Regions from separate parts of the Homo sapiens genome. Here region 2 is linked to region 1. The links are contacts of gene promoters, found by promoter capture Hi-C in blood cells and fetal thymus (Javierre and others, 2016). All regions are on one chromosome and are shown on one strand. The core of a region is centred on a gene start or on the middle of the fragment in contact, and the rest is flanking DNA. Distances in the headings are between cores, read along the strand shown.

Evidence for each region. Contacts are between HindIII fragments. The CHiCAGO score rates a contact against its expected background, and 5 or more counts as called.
Region 2: a contact is called between a fragment that was not itself captured here and the fragment with the promoter of TPD52L3 in region 1, in 1 of 17 cell types (endothelial precursors). The highest score is 5.5, in endothelial precursors.

Annotation. Positions count from the first base shown.
Region 1 is chr9:6,326,547-6,330,045 of GRCh38, forward strand. TPD52L3 (TPD52 like 3) reads left to right here and starts at 1,829. Exons shown (of 2, transcript NM_001001874.3): 1 at 1,829-2,416. The coding sequence starts at 2,050. It overlaps LOC107987046 (a long non-coding RNA gene), which reads right to left and starts at 1,722. Exons shown (of 3, transcript XR_001746614.2): 1 at 1,655-1,722. The HindIII fragment of the contact is 1,804 bases long and covers 568-2,371 here.
Region 2 is chr9:5,802,655-5,806,452 of GRCh38, forward strand. ERMP1 (endoplasmic reticulum metallopeptidase 1) reads right to left here. Exons shown (of 15, transcript NM_024896.3): 9 at 2,957-3,131; 10 at 2,373-2,563. Among named protein-coding and RNA genes, the nearest start is that of ERMP1, 29 kb to the right of the region's middle. The HindIII fragment of the contact is 1,182 bases long and covers 704-1,885 here.

The DNA of each region.
Region 1 (3,499 bases), core at 579-3,078:
TGTCGCCCAGGCTGGAGTGCAGTGGCGGGATCTCGGCTCACTGCAAGCTCCGTCTCCCGGGTTCACGCCATTCTCCTGCCTCAGCCTCCCAAGTAGCTGGGACTACAGGCGCCCGCCACTACGCCCGGCTAATTTTTTGTATTTTTAGTAGAGACGGGGTTTCACCGTTTTAGCCGGGATGGTCTCGATCTCCTGACCTCGTGATCCGCCCGCCTCAGCCTCCCAAAGTGCTGGGATTACAGGTGTGAGCCACCGCGCCCGGCCACATTATTGATATATAGAAATGATACTGAATTTATATCCTGAAACTTTACTGAAGTCATTTATCAGTTCCAGGAGCCTTTTGGTGGAGCCTTTCGGGTTTTCTGGATATGGAATCATATCATCTGAAAAAGAAATAATTTGACTTCTTATTTTCCTATTTGAATGACAGGGTATGTCTTGATGTGGGATCTGGCAACTAAGTGTCTGAAAAGCTCAGTTTTGCTATGAGAAAAAAAACCATTCTCTGTCAAAAGGAATCAAGGCTTAATAAAAGATTTCATAGTATACACTGAAGGATGAGGAAGCTTATAAAGAAAATAGGCATCAAGGTTGGTGGTTGAAATAATACAGAGAAGTAAAATCAAGTGCAAGTTCAGATTTGGTGATTTGGAGTCTCAACTTTGAAGAGACAATGTGTGTTCTATATTATGTAGCATAATTCAGGGATTTCTTTACCCTTTAGTCTCAGGTTTGAAAGAGGAGTTCTGATTCAGAGTCTGGGAGTGTTCCTGAAACCACTAGTGTTTCTACAGGCAATAGAGGAAAAGTCTACCCTCTGGAACAAATTGGTTTTTAGGGAGTCCTTGCTGCCCTTTTCAGGCCTTTAAACACATAGCCAAATCCTCCATCAGCCTTCATGTTTACAAGAACAATTCTCACTTTTTAACTTAGGGAAACACACCACTCAGGACAAGGCAATAATAAACACTACTAAATTATGTGAAAGGGTTATAGAACATAAACTCAAAGGAGGGCTGAAGTTGGTTTGAATGCACAGCTGGATGCTTCATTGTAGCCACATAGGCATGAGTAGGGCAAACTGCTGAAATTTGCTGAGGATCAAATTATGTTCCACAAGATCATGCTCGCAAGAATTACAAGAATATCCAACAAAATCACTAGAGTCTAAGACTTGCTCAAGAATATTCTCTGAGAATAGGCAGCCATAGAATGAGCTAAGTGAAGCTCGACCACAAGACCTCACTGGATTAACGTCCTGATTTTTCCATTGCATAAGTTTACTCTCGGCAGAATTACGGTTGGGGGGAGGTTGGGGTGGCAGGTTGGCAGGGGAGAGTGGATCCACACTCTGATAGATCCTATTTAACTAGTTTTACTTTACTGTGCAGACTACCTCCCACAACAGGTAACCTTGAATGTAGGCAGACATGCTTCCAGAAATGTGAGTGGAGGTAGGGCGGAATAAAGAAAATGCAACTGCAAAACTGAAAATTCATACTAGCACAATGATGTTTAAATGATTTTCAAGTGTTGGAGCTGGTGTGGTGGAAAACAGTTGCCTGACGCTTTGGTTTGAAGGCCAGGGCTTGTCATTTACCATGTCAGGAGAAATTCCTCTCTTTTCGACAATAATCTCTGCACTGCCTACCTCAGGAGGTCCTCGCAATGCCAAAATGCCGCCAGTGTGGGTTGCGCCTCAGCTGAGCACTGATTCTACAGCCTCGCGGTTTGGGCGGGAAGTCCCACCTCCGCAACCCTGACCAGCCCGGCTCCCCACCCCCACCACCCGGAAGTGAACACCACGAGCTAGCGTGTCTACTTCACAGGCCAGGTCGTCAACTCAACTGTCAAGGTGTCCATTGTACCAGCTGGGCCATGGATCCCTCCCGCCTGAAATCTGACTCCACCTGCCAAGAGTCTGAGCCTGCAGGCCTAGATTTCGACTCTGCTGGCCAAGATTATTTCTCTGCAGCCCAATAATTCGACTCTTTCTACCAAGAATTGGACCTGGACTCTCTTAACGAAGATCTTCTTTCCCAGTCCATGCCACATGCCAGGACAGAGACCTCTGTGGGCACATATGAATCCCACTCGACTTCTGAACTGGAGGATCTGACAGAGCCCGAGCAAAGAGAGCTCAAAACCAAACTCACTAAATTGGAGGCTGAAATTGTAACCCTACGCCACGTACTAGCAGCCAAAGAGAGACGCTGTGGGGAACTCAAGAGGAAGTTAGGCCTCACCGCCTTGGTAGGGCTGAGACAGAATCTGTCCAAGAGCTGGCTTGATGTTCAGGTCTCCAACACCTATGTGAAACAGAAGACATCAGCTGCTCTGTCCACCATGGGCACTCTCATCTGCAGGAAGCTTGGAGGCGTGAAGAAGTCGGCCACATTCAGATCTTTTGAAGGTCTGATGGGGACAATCAAGTCCAAAGTCTCAGGGGGCAAAAGAGCTTGGCCCTGACTGTCTTTCTTCTGCGGAGGGTGGGGTTGATCTGCTCTCAGTTTTGGGGTGTGGGGAAGACCCACTCCAGATTCCGGGGAGTGGGAATGAGCCACTCCCAGTTCTGGAGAGTGAGGATGACCATCTCCACTTTCTGGAACCAGAATGAGCCCCCTTGGTAACCTTGCCTGGTACTAAACCAGTGCAAGGACCCCCTTCCCTTATTACATTTGCAACTCTGCCCAACAAAAACAAGCAAGCAAACCACAATGGTAAAGTGGTTAATTCAGGAAATTGACAGAATCCAGTTTTGAGAAAAGAACACAGATATTTGCTGCTTTTAAGATAGAGAACCCAAAGTTTTGTACCTGGTTATTTTTCACTTAAGTTTGTAGACGAAATGTGCCATTATATTAGCTTTCCTGAGACTGTATCTAATGGGCAAGTCAGTGGCTCCAGAGGGGTCTTAGGCCAAAGCCCAAACTCTCTTTTGGAAAACTAGCTTATTAGAAAGCCAAAGTAGAGTTCTGTTTAAGCTTGAAAGAGGTATGAAGTAATCTGTAGTGTTTTTTTGGTTTGTTTGTTTGTTTTCCCTTCCCCATTTCCTTCCTTCCCTCAGTCTCAAAGTCACCTTGAAAGCTTCACCTGGCCTACAACTTTTATTTTAAAAAGATGATCAAGAAAACTTCATCTTCTCTGAGACTCAGAAAAAGAGGGGAAAATAGTGGTAGTGCACTAATTGTTACATTACTAATATAGCTTTTGTAAAACTCGTTTGTTTTCAAAGGTCTGGACTAAGCAAAACAACAGTGTCAGTTTAGGAAATTATTACTACTTTGAACACAAACTGAAATTGCAACTTTGCCTTGTGCTTTGTTTATAATTTCTTTATATATCAAAATGAGTGTTTTAAAGTTTAACCCTTGAAGCAGCATGTCTTTGCCATAGCAGCACTTCACTTAAAAGGAAGAAATTGCCTCTCTGGCAGCAATTCCTAGTTAGTTACCACCTCCAGCTGAGGGGCTGGAGGAAAACAGGTATAGCCAAA
Region 2 (3,798 bases), core at 45-2,544, 520 kb before region 1:
GGATTACAGGCGTGAGCCACCATGCCCAGCAAGCAATCAGTTAATAGGTGTCCTTAAGTTATTCTCTGCTGGACCTTCATGGTTATACGTATACTGATTGAATGACAGGGGAAATGGGGACTGCTGATACAAGTGGGGTCAGGAGGAGAAGACTCAGAAACAGCTCAGTTATCAGCACACAATGGACATTTCAGAGTCCCTTTTCATGCTTCTCTTCATTTTATTTTGCACCCATCTCAGAACCTAGAGTGACACAGGATGCAATATTTCAGGAAGGCCGAGGCACGAGAATTGCTTGAACCCAGGAGGCGGTGGTTGCAGGGAGCCGAGATTACACCACTGCACTCCAGCCTGAGTGACAGAGCGAGACTCTGTCTCAAAAACAAACAAACAAACAAACAAACAAAAAACCGTGATTGCTTGACAAGACTTTAATTGCTTTCTAGCAGATGTATTTAATAAATCCCCAAGGACTGAAGGGAAAGCTGTCTGAAATATGCATTGTGGTTCAATTCTCCATTACCCAAAGAAAACAGTCTTACTCTATTAATAAGCCACTATCATTAACACTGCTACACATAAGTAAGAAAATAATTAAAAGAGTGATAACTCATGGCATCAAAGTGCGGCAGGGCTATTTCACATTATAATGAAAAATAAGTGAGCTTTCTAAAGTATTCCAAGAGGCAGTCTTCTCTCCAAAAGCTTTCCCAATAAAATATAATTTAGATGATAAGACACTTTAATCCTCTTTCTTCTGGTTTCCAAGATTTCCATGCTTTGGGGACATTTTCCATTTCCACAATGAACATCTCCAGGGTTCATTTTGCCCCCTTTCATATTATCAGTGGAACAGAATTTAAATGTCCCCTATCTGAGTCATCTTTTATGGACATCCATAGCTCCCATTCATGACTATAATTTAACAAATAAACGGGGGTGTGGGGGCATTCAGTTCATAACTAGTTGACTTCAGATTAGATTAGAACCTAATCTATAGATAACAAAAGTCCACTGTCTCCTTCAATCCTTACAACAGCAAACCTATCAAAAATACAGATGATATAAGGGTTACTATTAAACTCAAAAGCAGCAAACCCTACAGGCAGCAAAGAACATTTTAGAACTTTTCATACAGCCCTATGAATACCAATAAGGATTATCCTTATCCTTATATTATCCTTAATAATTATCCTATAAGTAAAATGGTTGGAAGGCTCAGATCTCTTTTAAGACTAGTACAACCAACCTCAAACAATAATATGCATAAGAATTACTCTACAGGACTATATACACAAAGTCACATATATAGAGCTTTACTGGCTATAAGGGACTTCCACGGATGATGCTGACCATGTGTGTAGTGTTTTCCTTACCTGCTGTCTTTAGAACCTAACTTCCACAAAGTAAAGGGGTAACGAATGCCCTTTACTATATCAGTATGAAAAGGCTCACTATCATCTCCATGAAGAAAAGAACTATAATAAAATCATAGCTCCTTTTCCTGTTTGGTTCCCTATCCTCAAATTTCAAGGTGCACCTCTGAGTGTTCAATAATTACTTTTTATTCTTAGGAATTCCCACCAAAAGAGACCTGCATTCTCTGGAGGGGCCCATCTTGGATCGTGGAGGTGGACATCAAACCAAAGCAAAACCTTGCTTGGGGCTTACTCTGCTCAAGGGGGGTCTGGTCTTAAACTCTGCATCACTGTCTTTTCTTCCCTCTGGGAATCCCAAGGGAAGAAAAAAAGGGATGGCAAACACAGGACTCTCCTTACTAGGGCAGGACACTGATACGGCAAAATGAGGACTGACAAGGCCTGTGATCATTTCATTATTTGGTAAATGAAGGCACGTTTGGGTGTCATAACAGACTCAATTAACAAGCTTTCATGTGGTAGCAACAAGGTAGTGGAATGATAATGAAAAAAGCCTCATCAGATTTAGTCTTCCTTCACTAGCTCTAAAAGCACTAATAAAACCACCCATGTATCTATTAACATGTGCCTCTAATTAGTAATTTCAAAATATACTATTAGGATCATTCACCACCAGGCAATCTCTAACAATTAATACTTGGTAAACGCTCTACAAATTCACACTCAGGTATCTGACAGGCTATTTGAAAAGAGGTAAATCAGAGAATTTGGAAGGATAGGGAGGCAAAAAACTTTTAAACAGCAACAACAAACTCTATACTACAGTTTCTTACGATACCAAATTTACAAGATGCATGGCCATTCATTCACCATTTCTTCTGCTTCAGATTTTCTCAATAAAGTACACGTAACACTATTTCACAGAATCTAGTATGGCTAAATTCATATTCATATAAAAAATGAAGAAAAAGAAAAAAACTTATTTTCTCTTACAAAATAGGACGAGAGAATCATTGTACAGCCAGCCAAAATGGATGCCAGCACAACATCAGGTGGGATTTCAGAACCACTTCTCCCGAGGATAGGGGTAAACATCTCAAATACTGCCCAGATGAGGTACAATGCATAAAGATAAGGAATAAACATCCCCAAAAGGTAAAAAGCAATAAATTTTCCTTGGGCACCTAGGGAAAAAGAGAAAAAAAGCACACATCTATGAAATCCTCCAGTGAGATATAAATTTTTATAGTACTGGTGTGCCTTGGTACCCTAACAGAAATTAGGTTAGATGTGACTCTTGCCCTTAAGGGTGTATGTTATCTTGGAGTAGGATCTTTCACTCAGGATAAAATACAAATAAGAATAAAGCAAAATACACAAGTAATATATTAGTATGTGTTCACAAACATGAGAAAGGGATGGAGTATAAGGCATAAGATAATTTGTGTGGTATGAAAACTTTTAAAAACTAACAATTTAGAAAGCCTACCCAATAAAACCAAAAAAGAAAGAGTCCCTGAAAGCCTTAAGTATTTTAAGGTATTCTCCCATGTATATCAAAATCAAAAATACCCTACCATGCTGCTTGAAGTCCTTATGCACACAGAGCTTTGTGAGCAATGGGAATGCTACCCAGACAGCACTAATAAACGCCGAGCAAAGTCCTTGGTAAGTGAGGGTAACAAGAAAACAGCAATGGACAAACAGCGAAATGTCAAAAAATACTTCTCCCAGATACTGGGCACTGGCATTCTGAAAGAAAGAAAAATATACAAGTAGTCTCATTCAGGGGTCATGCATAAAGAGCTTTTATTATAGTAACACACTTTCCATCACTCAGGAAAGCTACATTTTGTTTTAAACACAGTCTGCTCTTTAAACTGATTTAAAGTAAACACTAACAAAGCTACCTCCCCCATCATGAAGTAGTAAATTCAAATGTAGCACAAGAAAGGGCATTTTAACAATATAGAGTATAAATGCTCCATGTACTCTATGCTTTTCTTCTACTAGGCTAAAAGTAGAAATTTTCCAAAATAGAAGAAAGGACTCTCCTAAAAAACAATCATCTCTGTAAGCTTTTCAGTTCATGCCAATTCCAAACACTGTTTCAAGCAAACTAGAGAAATGACCTGTGAAGGAACGTTAGGAACTGCTGCAGCACCACCAATAACCCACATCTGGAAAACTGCAGCACCTTTAAAGCAATCTGGAGTTTGGCTTATTTTCATGAGTTTTTTCTATCTCCAGTTGGTCTTGTACTGCACCTTTGCCCCCTTCTTGTATTCCTCATGATTTCCTATTATAAAATTTGATCTTACAGTTTTTGAGATTTAAAGTCCAAGGGTTCCTATGTAGCACCTTGCACTCTTCAAAATAAAGTTGCCATATAAACTTTTTTTTTTTTTTTTTGAGACAG